2 separate regions of the Homo sapiens genome follow, and region 1 is linked to region 2. The links are contacts of gene promoters, found by promoter capture Hi-C in blood cells and fetal thymus (Javierre and others, 2016). All regions are on one chromosome and are shown on one strand. Each heading gives the region's core, a stretch centred on a gene start or on the middle of the fragment in contact. The rest is flanking DNA. Distances are from core to core; before and after follow the strand shown. Region 1 overlaps LINC02568 (long intergenic non-protein coding RNA 2568). Region 2 holds the start of RPS27L (ribosomal protein S27 like).

Region 1 (5,979 bases), core at 2,108-4,607, 240 kb before region 2:
TACATGGCTAAGCCTTGAGTCAGTGCGAAAGGTATTATCCAAGGATGTTGTAGAGAGAGGTATGAACAAATTAAGGACCAGTGTTGTAACAATCTACTGAAAAAATTAATTTAATTTCTCCTTATCTCAGTGTTTACCAAGATGATAATATTAATAACACTTTCTTGACCTACTTGCCAGGAAAGAAAAAAAATAAACACATGGAAGAAACTACTGTATATCATTCAAAGAAAAGGGACAACATAACTATTATTCATCTTACTTCAGTTTACTCATCTACCTTTTTCACGTCTCGTCCACAGCACGGCTAATCTATCTATGGGGCAATTAGGAATCCCACTTAGTGAAAATTCCTATCAAAAATAAAGGTAACAATTTCAAAAGAAAATTTTGTTTGTTTTCATAATTTTCACCAGCAAATTGGTACATTTTATGGGTTGTGTGTAAGGATACCCACTAAGGATGTAACTAGCAGGATTCTTCGAGAATAGAGACCCAGGAATGTCTAACCACAGGATAACTTTCACAATTGCCCTTATATGTTAGACTTGGCAGATACATTTTGGTTTTTTGTTTATTTGTTTGGAGAAGGAGACTTGTTCTGTCACCCAGGCTGGAGTGCAGTGGCACGATCTCCGCTCACTGCAACCTCCATCTCTCGGGTTCAAGTGATTCTCCTGCCTCAGCCTCCCGAGTAGCTGGGATTACAGGCGCCCACCACCATGGCCGGCTAATTTTTGTATTTTTAATAGAGATGGAATTTCACCATGTTGGCCAGGCTGGTCTTGAACCCCTGACCTCAGATGATCCGCCCGCCTCAGCCTCCCAAAGTGTTGGGATTACAGGCATGAGCCACTGCGCCCGGCCTACATTTTGTTTTAAATAATTGCTCAGCATTGTACAAGTTGAACACCTGTTATAGCACTCGGAGGACTTAATCACATAAAGAAAATGACTAGGAGTTTATAGTACATGTTTTCTTTTTTTTTTTTTTTTTTTTTTTTAATGAGATGGCGTCTTGCTGTGTTGCCCAGGCTGGAGTGCAATGGTGCAATCTCGGCTCACTGCAGCCTCCGCCTGCTGGGTTCAAGCAATTCTCCTGCCTCAGCCTCCTGAGTAGCTGATACTACAGGTGCCCGCTACCATGCCCGGCTAGTTTTTATATTTTTAGTAGAGATGGGGTTTCACCATGTTGGCCAGGTTGGTCTCAAACTCCTGACCTCAAGTGATCCACCCATCTTGGCCTCCCAAAGTGCTGGGATTACAGGCATGAGCCACCCCACCCGGCCTACAGTATATGTTTTCATTCCTATTTGCATGGTGCTGAGAATTGCTGAAGATAACACCACTTCTGGAAATTCACACTCAATCTTACTGGAACTGAGATTAGCCAAGAAAAGGATTACTTCATTCTTACTAAAAACTTATCTTTCCTACAAATCGTGGTCTTCATTATTTAACCTGATGAATAAACATTTATTGGGCATCTACTGTGCGTGAAAAACTGAACTAGAGATAGAAATATGGATAAAACACAGTTTTTGCTCTGCTGGCAACAAACTATAAGGCAAATCTGACAGATAAGTGCTCCAGGGAGTATTGAAGAAGGAATGATTTACACCAATGGCATGAACTAGAGAAAACTTCTTGAAGACAACTTTTGTTCCGAGCTTTGAAGAATGAGTAGCATTTCTCAATGTGAGAAAGGGGAGAGAGAATTCCATACAGAGGTAAACGTATGGTAAACAGAGGGTTAAAGTGCACAGCATTTTTTGGGGAAAACATCACCCAGGGTAGTTGGAGTGTAGGGTGTGTTATGGGAAGTAGAAAAGGAAGTGAGGCCAGCTTGTTAAGACCTTTGAATGTGATATTAAAGGGCTTACATGAGGGCTTTAAAGGCCCTTGATTAAAACATTCTCATGATTATAACTATTTTAGAAGTGTCATTCTGGCTTCTGGATACTGACACAATGGGGACCCAACAGGGGCTCCTGGCTATCTCTGTCAACCTAGTTCTGGGAGTGTCTCAGAAATGGTGCAACTGATGGATCTGAGAATCTAATGTGATAATTGTGAGAAGTTTCTAGAGGGACAGCAAATGGTTGGAGCCCAGTGTATGTGTTTGCGACTGCAGACTGCAGGGGAAAAGGGACAGTGCTGTAGGTGGGGAAGATTTTATCTTAGACTATTTTCCTCCCTTGTATTTCCATGGGCAGATTATAGTCTTCCCCAACTCCACTGCAAGACAGAACAGTATCACTAGTCCTGCACCAGCAGGAGATGAAGCTTGTGGGTACATCAGGGGAAAGGAAGGAGATAACAGGTAAAGATACACCCACATTCCTTCTAAGAACTGCCACTCCTCAGCATAGTATTGGAGGTCCTGGCCAATGTGATAAGACAAGAAGTACTAGGTATAGGATTTGAAAGGAAGTAGCAAAACTGTCGTTATGTACAGGTGATCTGATTATCTACATAGAAAACCTCACAGACTTAATAGAAAAACTTTTAGAACTAATACTTACGTTCAGCAAGGATGTCAAGAAGAAGATCTGTTTAGAAAACTCAGTTGCATTCTTCTACAACAGAACATTCAACCAGGAAACCTAATAGAAAATAAGATAATTTTCAGAAGAGCAACACAACTAAAAAATCAACTTAATATTCAAAATAAATTTTTGGAGAAAAATATAAAACTATCAAAGGACATTAGACTTAAGGAAAGAGATATGCCACATTGGTAGACAAGACTACTTAACATGTAAAGATAACAATTCTCCCAAAATTAGTCTAAAAATTCAAGGCACTTTCAGTATAGTCCCAACAGAATTTTTTGAGGGAATAAAAAAAGCATATTCAAAATTTATATAGAAGAAAAAAACAAGGTCCACCATCAGTTGAGCCAATTTCAGAAAAAGAACAAAGAGGAATGACTTGCCCCAGTATACTCCAATGCTATATAATAAAACATTACGGCACTGTGGTGTAGAAGCATGGAAATAGAGTAAGGGTGAGAAAGTGTCAGAAATTCATAGGTATGCTTATGTGTTTTGTTGTATGTGCACCTGATGTATGAAAAACAAGTAAATGGGGAAAGGATGGGTTGCTTAGTAGACAGTGTAGGGAAGATTGGCTCACTACATGGAAAAAAATTAAGCTGCATTCCTAACACCATAAGCAAAGGTGAACTTCAGAAGAATTAAAGATATAAATGTGAAACACCACCCTACAAAACATAGATATGCATGTGTATGCATATATATACGTCAGAATATATTTATGACCTTAGAAGTGGGGAAGAATTTTTTTAAAAAACATTCAAAAAGTGTAACTGTATTCCCTGCCCCTCAAATTGATGACTATATCAAAATTAACAATAATGACGATGGCAGATATAGTTATCTAAATGAACAGACAGGTGATAGACTGAGAAAAAAATATTTGAGACTCCCAAGACCAGCAAGAGATTATTATACAGAATATATAAGAAAGTCCTACAAATCAATCAGAAAAAGAGAATACAACAGGAAAATGGGCAAGGATATGAATATGTGACTCACCCCAAAAAACCCACTGGTTTTGCTCAACCTCACTAGTTTTTTTGTTTTGTTTTGTTTTGTTTTGAGACAGAGTCTCACTCTGTTGCCCAGGCTGGAGTGCAGTGGCACGATCTCGGCTCACTGCAACCTCCGCCTCCTGGGTTAAAGTGATTCTCCTGCCTCAGCCTCCCGAGTAGCTGGGACTACAGATGCCCGCCACCACGCCCAACTAATTTTTGTATTTTTAGTAGAGACAGGGTTTCACCATGTTGGCCAGGATGGTCTTGATCTCCTGACCTCATGATCCACCCGCCTCAGCCTCCCAAAGTGAACCTCACTAGTTCTTAGATAAATGAAAATTAAAACAATAGCAAGACTAAGTCTTTTTACCCATGAGGTTGGAAAATTAGGAGACTGGATAATACCAAACTCTGGCAGGTTGTAAGGAAACAAAACGGAAAGGAAACAAACACTGTATTCTAGGGCATGTCAAAGATAGAGCCAGGCACCGGTTAAAGCAGCCAGGACAGGTTTTATTCAGGGACTACTGCAATAAGGAAAAAGAGTAGAGTGTGAACAGAGTACCTGATGCAAAGTACTGGAGACTATTTAAAGATTAAGGGAAAGGCACTGTGGGGTGTTAAGGGAGGGTTAGTCTATGTGATTGCGCCACCTGGATTTGTTCACTGGTGCTTATCCGAAGGATAAACACACTTCTCCTAAAGTAAGGCATCCATAGCAGTTAGGCCCTTATCCTCCTGGGAGAAGAGCTATAGCTCCCTGAATATCTGCATTTCAAAGAGAGGGCTCTCAGATCCTTGAGGAGACCGTTTTGGGTGGGAGATTTACATCTCAAAGGGCAAAGGAAAGATTTATAATTGCAAGCTTTCTAAAATAACTGCTCTAAGAGGGAGCTCAGGGGCTTATCTGCCTATCACCAGGTTTTGGCCAGAATAAACAGTAAATTCTCCTGGCAGCATTGAGCTTCCAGGCAAGCATTTTAAGGGAGGCTGGTATCATCCTAGGGACATGGTCTTAAGCTGCTAGAAGCCATGCTAGGGTTTGGTCAAGTCTCTTAGTGCAGGGGTTTGGACAGAGTCATTACGGGCAGAGAGTTCTGCAGTTCGCAGTCACAACCTAGACGTACTTTGTGAAAATAAATATGCATCAGCAATTCCACTCCTAGACATATGCTTCCGAGAAACTCTTACACAGGTCCTAAAGGATCACGGACAAAAACACTCACCTCACTGTAGTACTGGTAGCAGGGAGCTGGGGCATTTGCTAGGGGAATGGATAAGTAAATGCGGTAGGTAGGTTTAAAAACCAAACCACACAAAATAACATATTTTTGTTAAATATAGTGAACTGCAAATTTCTCTTCAAAGAATCAGCACGTCAGTAGTTTCAGCTCTCTTATTCTTTGATTCTCCATTTTAAAGTTTAACTTCCTGGTTCTCTTTGCCCACTTGCTTCTAGTTTAAGTAAACAACTTTCCCCGTAGTCCTAATCAGTAGTTCACATCTGTTCCCCTGGTCACCTGCTCCATCTTGACTCATTGTGGTCATCTTCTTTGACCTGAGTCACCCTTGGTCACCTTCTCTGACCTAAGTCACCTTTGGTTACCTGTTCCTAACTGTCCTTCCTGCCAAACTACTCACTCCGCCACTCTGACTCATACCCCTGCCCCTTTAAAATAGCCAATCAAAATTAGCTTAGACTGTGCGGTCCAACCCTAGCCAACAGGGGAACAACACAGCAGCAGGGCCTACCTGTGTCAGGAATCAGAACTCCTGCCCCTCCCCTGTCCAGGTGTGCTCTCGCCATTGTTCCATCTGTGATGAGCACCCTTTCTGCAGAAAGTAAAAATTGCTTTGCTGAGAGAATTAAATGTATGTTCGAGTGCTATTTCTTTGTGGCACCAGGGAACAAACATTTCTAACATTTTGTAAGTTCACATACATACCCAAGAATACATTATCACAATATCAGAGTGACAGCGTGTGGGAAGAAGGAGAATGGGTATCAGAAATGAAGGTGGGGGGGAAATCAAATAAATAAAACAAGAGCAACTCCTTACACGATGGATAATGAGTGAGCCCCATACTCCACTCACTACAGTTGCAGTCAGAAACAGAGAGAGGGAGAGAAGAGAGGGGAGAGGATGAGAAGGTGGGAAAAACAGAAAGTGTGTCACTCTGGCAGGATGGACAATGACTGAGAGGCTAGGGTGGGAGAGACCAGGGAAGAGGGGATGGGGCAGTGGAGGTGGGAGATGACAGTGGTTGGAAGTAGAGCAGAGGCAGCGGAAATACAAATAATCAATGCTGACTAAGGACCTATCATGTGCTAGGCACCATTAGGTTCTTGCATTCCGTTTGGGGATGGATCCCAGAAGCCCCCTTAAGATGGAAACGCTGATATGGTGAATGTAGGGTGG
Region 2 (5,950 bases), core at 1,345-3,844:
TGTTGGCCAGGCTGATCTCGAACTCCTGACCCCAGATGATCTGCCCACCTTGGCCTCCCAAAGTGCTGAAATTACAGGCAACAAGACAAATTTATTATCTTACAGTTCTGGACAGAAGTCTGAGCCAGGTCTTATTGGGCTAAAGTTGAGATGTTGGCAGGGCTGTGTCCCTCTTTGGGAGATCCAGGAGGGAGTCCATTTCCTTGCCTTTTCCAGCTTCTAGACGCTGCCCACATTCCTTGGCTCATGGCCCTCTTCCATCTACAAGCCATCAACATAGCACCTCTCAGACCTTCCATTACCACATCTCCTTCTCGCTCTTCTGTCTTCCTCTTCCACTTTCAAGAACCCTTGTGATTCCACTGGGCCTACACAGATAATCCAGGATACTCCTTCTAGATTAAATCAGCTAATCAGCAACCTTTATTCCACTTGCCATGTAACTAAAGGTTCTGAGGATTAGGCCACTGATGTCTTTGGGGGCCACTATTCTGTGTATACAATTGTATTATTCTATATACTTATATACATTAAATATTTAATATTCACCAATTTTTATTAATTTTTAAGTATCAAATATTTAAAAACCCAAACCTAATGCCCAATTTAGTGTATGGCTGAAGTGAAAATATATATAGTCACAGGACAAATGCTATATGCCCATTAAGAAGCATAATGTAGAATATTCCAGCCTGGGCAACATGGCGAAACCCCATCTCTACAAACATTACAAAAATTAGCCAGGCGTGGTGGCTTGTACCTGCAGTCCCAACTACTCAGGAGGCTGAGGGGGGACAATTGCTTGAGCCCAGGAGGTCGAGGCTGCAGTGAGCCAAGATTGTGCCACTGCACTCCAGCCTGGGCAACACAGTGAGACCTTATTTAAAAAAAAAAAAGAATATGTAGTGACATGGAGTGATGCTCATTTTATAGTAAGTGGGAGGAAAATTCAAGTCTACAAAAGATTATGCACAAGATGATCCCAATTAGGTTAAGTCAAAACCCAAAATAAACCTATATCCAAGAGAGTAAAAAATATTGGGAAGGATATAGGTCAAAAGTTAAAAATGTTTATTTACAGATGGTAAATTTTCTTCTATTTTTCTGCATTTCCCAAAATGTATATTATACATGTATCCTTTTTGCAAAGACAAATAAGGTGATTAAGAACATCAAGTCAGGGCGGGACGCGGTGGCTCACGCCTGTAATCCCAACACTTTGGGAGGCCAAGGCGGGCAGATCACTTGAGGTCAGGAGTTCGAGACCAGCTTGGCCAACATAGTGAACCCCCCCCCCACCATCCCCCGTCTCTACTAAAAACACAAAAAGTAGCCGGACATGGTGATGGACACCTGTAATCTCAGGTACTTGGGAGGATTGAGGCAGGAGAATCGCGTGAACCCAGGAGGCGGAGGTTGCAGTGAGCCAAGATCGCGCCACTGTACTCCAGCCTGGGTGACAGAGCAAGACTCTGCCAAAAAAAAAAAAAAAAAAAAAAAAAATCCAGTTAGACCAATTTTCTGGTAAAGTGTCTTTCTGGTTTCTTGCCTTTTGGTCGCCCATGACACCCATTTTTCAAGCATAGAGTTTCCTCCTCAAAAATAGAGCATGCTGTCACGCGCCGGTAGTCCCAACTACTTGGGAGGCTGAGGTGGAAGGACTTCTTGAGCCTAGGAATTGGAGACAAGCCTGGGCAATATAGCAGGACCCTGTCTCCAAGGAAAAAAAAAAAAAAAAAAAGAATAATGGCGTGTTCCTGTGGTCCCAGCTACTCGGGAGGCTGAGGCGGGAGAATCGCTTGAGCCCAGGAGGTCGAGGCTGCAGTGAGCTGTGATGGCACCATTGCATTCCAGCCTGGGCAAAAAAGCGAGACCTTGTCTCAAATAATAATAATGATAAAGACTCATGTTCGGTCATCGGTGACATTCGCCTTTCTCAGGCCCCCTAGTTGTCCACTCTGCAAAGGACGAGTAATCCTCGGAAGGGGTGGGGCCTCTTAGTGAATGAGGCACAGCAGCGAATCCGTGCTGTTTTAAAAACTTTTTTTCAGAACAAAGCAAACCTAAGGCACAGCCATACCCCGCAGAAAACTTCGAAATCTGCGCCTTGAAAAGGGAAGCCAAAAGGATACGAGCCTCTTTCATAATCTCTCTGGCACGTATTAATGGTTAATAATACTGTATTTTTTAATACACAAAAGAAGAGAATAGTGGCATTGCCCCGTGTGCCCACCCCCAGAGCTAACCGAGAGCGGCCGGGCCAGGGGGCCGGGGGCTGAGCGGCCCGCCGGGTTCCGGGGTGGCGCCGGCCCCGGTGGCCGCGGGCGCTCCCTCGCCATGGCCTAAGCCCGAGGCCGCTCCCCAGCCAGATTCTGGCCTCAGGCACTGCAGAGCCCGCGGCGCTCGCCAACAAGCCCGTTAGACCCACGGGACTTGGCACCCTGGAACGCTCACCATCCCCGGGTCTTCCCTGCGCCCTGGACCCGAGTACCCTGCTGCGGCGTCCCCCTACCACCGAGAGGAGGGCCTAGAGCAGACAAGCCCGCCCCGCCGCTCCTCCCAGCAGCTTCTATCCCGGAAGTTGATGCCGAGCGCAGATCGCTTGCAGCTTGCTAGCTGTGTGGGCTGGGAGGTCTGGTAGGGCTGAGCTTGCAAGAGGATCAACATGCCTGTGAGTTGTTTACATCGGGCTCCGGGTTTGTTTTGGGCTTCTTTACCGAGAGTCATATGGGACGGATGAGTCCGGCTGCCTCTCGGGCCTGTAGTGTCCGAGAGTGGCGAGGCGGCTCAGGTTGCGCAGCGTCTTCGCGCGTGGCGGGCATGTAGTGACTTGCCCGGTCACCGCGGCGCGGCTGGCCCTGCAGGGGCGTGGGCTGCAATTCAGAGGCGGTGGCTGGGAGGGGAACAGTTCTCTGTGTAGCTTATGAGCGGTCTTGGTCTTTGAGGATGCCCCTGAGGTTGTGATCTTTGGGTCTTTTGGCTTTCCCAGTGATTGGTGTTTCTCGCCCCCTCTGCCTTCTTTCGGAAGCGATTTCCTACTTGTTTTCCTTTTTTAAAAACTGTCCTCGTTGTTGCCTTATATATTAATTCCGTCAAGGACGGTCGCTCAGCAAGAATTCCTGTCAGATCAGCTGTTGAGCCACAGGAGCAAAAATCACCCAGGCGCTGACGTTGTCTGGTCTACTTCAGCAGTTTCTACTCTAAGCGAGTCCACAGTCGGGGTCACTTTCTTTGCTTAGCACCTCGACTTCGCGCAGTTTTCATCGAAGACAGTTCATTACGCAGTTGAGTAAAGAAGGACAAAGTTTGCCTTACCATATGTTTCCTGATCGTGCGAAAGCCCTTTTCTAGGGACTTGGAGAACACAAGTATTATGAAAAGTACTGATGAAAGTTATTAACAGGTTTCGAAAAATAACTTTACTATCTGACGTGTTGCTTCTGCCGAGGATGACCGTTATTCCTGTTTTTGCATGTATATTTCACGTATGGTTAAATGTGCCAGCGTTGTGGTTTAAAACTAATAGTAATAATATGCTTCTTTGTTCAGTTGGCTAGAGATTTACTACATCCGTCCTTGGAAGAGGAAAAGAAAAAACATAAAAAGAAACGCCTAGTACAAAGTCCAAATTCTTACTTTATGGATGTAAAATGTCCAGGTAAAATTTGAAATCTTAATTCCTTTACTAAAGAAAATTTCTGTAGGGATTGCTAGTGTGGTGTGTATAGTTAAGATACATTAGAACCCTCTGTTGAGTAGAAGTGGGATTACAGAATTGGAAATGTCAGGGACATTTTCATAATAAATGTACTGAAACCATTGTAGAAACATTTCGGGGTAAGTGAAAACAGGCATTCAAAGGAGATATGCCATTTGACTTAGCAAGTCTTTAAGCTCTTCAGACGATGAGTTTTCTGTTTCATGATACAAAGAAAAGTCTGTTGATTCTTCAGTCTAAAGCTGTGCTGCCCAATACAATGGCCATTAGCTGAATGTGGCTACTGAGCACTTGTGGATAATCAAAATGTGGATACTCAAAATAGAGATGTTCTTTAATTGTAAAATACTCACTGGATTTTGACGATGTAGCACAGAAAAAAAATACATTGATTACATGTTGAAATGATATTTTGGAAATATTAAGTTTAATGAAATATATTATTGATTTTACCTGTTTTTAAAAAATTTTGTGTCGCTGCTAGAAAAGTTTATGTTACACATGTGGCTTGCTGTTTCATAGCACTGAAGTTACTGATTTTTTTACATATTACCAGAAATGTCGAACAGGTGCTGTTTTCCTCTGCTTTTCATTTTTAACATTGCCTTTTTTTTTTTTTAGGTTGCTACAAGATCACCACGGTTTTCAGCCATGCTCAGACAGTGGTTCTTTGTGTAGGTTGTTCAACAGTGTTGTGCCAGCCTACAGGAGGAAAGGCCAGACTCACAGAAGGTATATCATTTGGCATTCTCCAACCCAGTGATGAGATTGATGATTATAAATGTCTCTATCTTCACTGAAAAGTTTAAAGAAATCTTAATGATTACCAAAATAACTTATCTTTCATTGTGTGCTTTCAGTAAAGAATGGCCTGTTCAAATGGATATATTTATACTCTTGACCTTGCAGTGAACTCCATTGACTTATTTTTCTTAGTTTAGAACACATTTATTCACTTAGTTTGCTTAACTTGGAATAAATTAAGTCAGAATAGAAGCAAAAGAATAACTACATGTTATAGGACATGCAGATTTATTTATTTATTTATTTATTATTTTTTTTTTTTATTAGGAGTCTCGCTCTGTCACCCAGGCTGGAGTGCAGTGGCGCCATCTCAGCTCACTGCAACTTCTGCCTCCCCGGTTCAAGTGATTCTCTTGCCTCTGCCTCCCAAGTAGCTGGGACCACAGGCGCGTGCCACCATGCCTGGCTAATTTTTTGTATTTTTAGTAGAGGTGGGGTTTCACTGTGTTAGCCAGGATGGTCTTGATCTCCTGACCTCATGGTCTGCCCGCCTCGGCCTCCCAAAGTGCTGGGATTACAGGCATGAGCCACCTCGCCGGCCAGGACATACAGATTTTTAAAACCATATAGAATTTTAAAATTTCTTTTACAAAATTTTGTTCCATATATATTTAGTACATATAATAGTTTTTTTTTTATCATTGCCAGCTAAGCAACAGATAGCTAATATATAAGTTAAAATGCCAGAGATTTTACTTTTATGAGCAACTGCAATGATTAATATAAAAACCTAATTTTAATTCCTCTTTCACTTTAGTGCAATAAGAAAAAAAAATTATATATATAGTTTCCATAGTAATACTTGTAAATTTGTGATTCCATAATGATGTTATAAATTTGCTTGTGATATTTTGGGGAGCTGTAAGTTCCATGCTCTCACTGGAAGAGTTCAAGTGGATTGGCAGCAAATCTGAGATCTATTTGGTGTGACCTGGTGAGATCTAAATATGGAGTCAGCACATGATTTTTTTAAGAGTAATATTGCTAAGTAATATTGCTAAGTATACTTGGGAGATTTTTGAAACAAAGTATGTCATGTCATGATTTTGGAATTTAGTGCCCATATGCTGACAGATGGTTTAATGGGTCTATCTGTTCTAGAGTTTTCCTAATAGGTCTGAAAATACCTCTAATCAAAATTATTTACTTGAGAAAAGTATTCAGAATAGTTCCTAAAAATTAAGAGTATATCTTCTGACAGCTTGCTTGAAACAGTCTTCACTGTTGAATTCAGGCTCATGGTCTTAAGTAGACTTCATTATAGCATTTGAGAAACAGGAGTGACACTTATAGTCATACCAGAGTAAACTCAGATATGATAGATGTATTATAGCAAATTTCTGGTATAAAAGGATAAATAATCTGTATATGAGTATTAATCCAATATTCTTAAAACTTCAGTATTTTACTTAAAAGTACTTTTTGTCA

Evidence for each region. Contacts are between HindIII fragments. The CHiCAGO score rates a contact against its expected background, and 5 or more counts as called.
Region 1: a contact is called between a fragment that was not itself captured here and the fragment with the promoter of RPS27L in region 2, in 1 of 17 cell types (endothelial precursors). The highest score is 5.1, in endothelial precursors.

What each region holds. Positions count from the first base shown.
Region 1 is chr15:63,395,014-63,400,992 of GRCh38, reverse strand. LINC02568 (long intergenic non-protein coding RNA 2568) reads right to left here. Exons shown (of 7, transcript NR_120375.1): 3 at 5,312-5,392; 4 at 2,526-2,606. Among named protein-coding and RNA genes, the nearest start is that of LINC02568, 7.8 kb to the right of the region's middle. The HindIII fragment of the contact is 2,138 bases long and covers 2,289-4,426 here.
Region 2 is chr15:63,154,121-63,160,070 of GRCh38, reverse strand. It overlaps RPS27L (ribosomal protein S27 like), which reads left to right and starts at 2,594. Exons shown (of 4, transcript NM_015920.4): 1 at 2,594-2,671; 2 at 3,550-3,658; 3 at 4,340-4,450. The coding sequence starts at 2,666. RefSeq lists a silencer at 2,221-2,320 and enhancers at 2,502-3,075, 2,471-3,130, 3,281-3,370, 2,655-3,854. The HindIII fragment of the contact is 11,776 bases long and covers 1-5,950 here.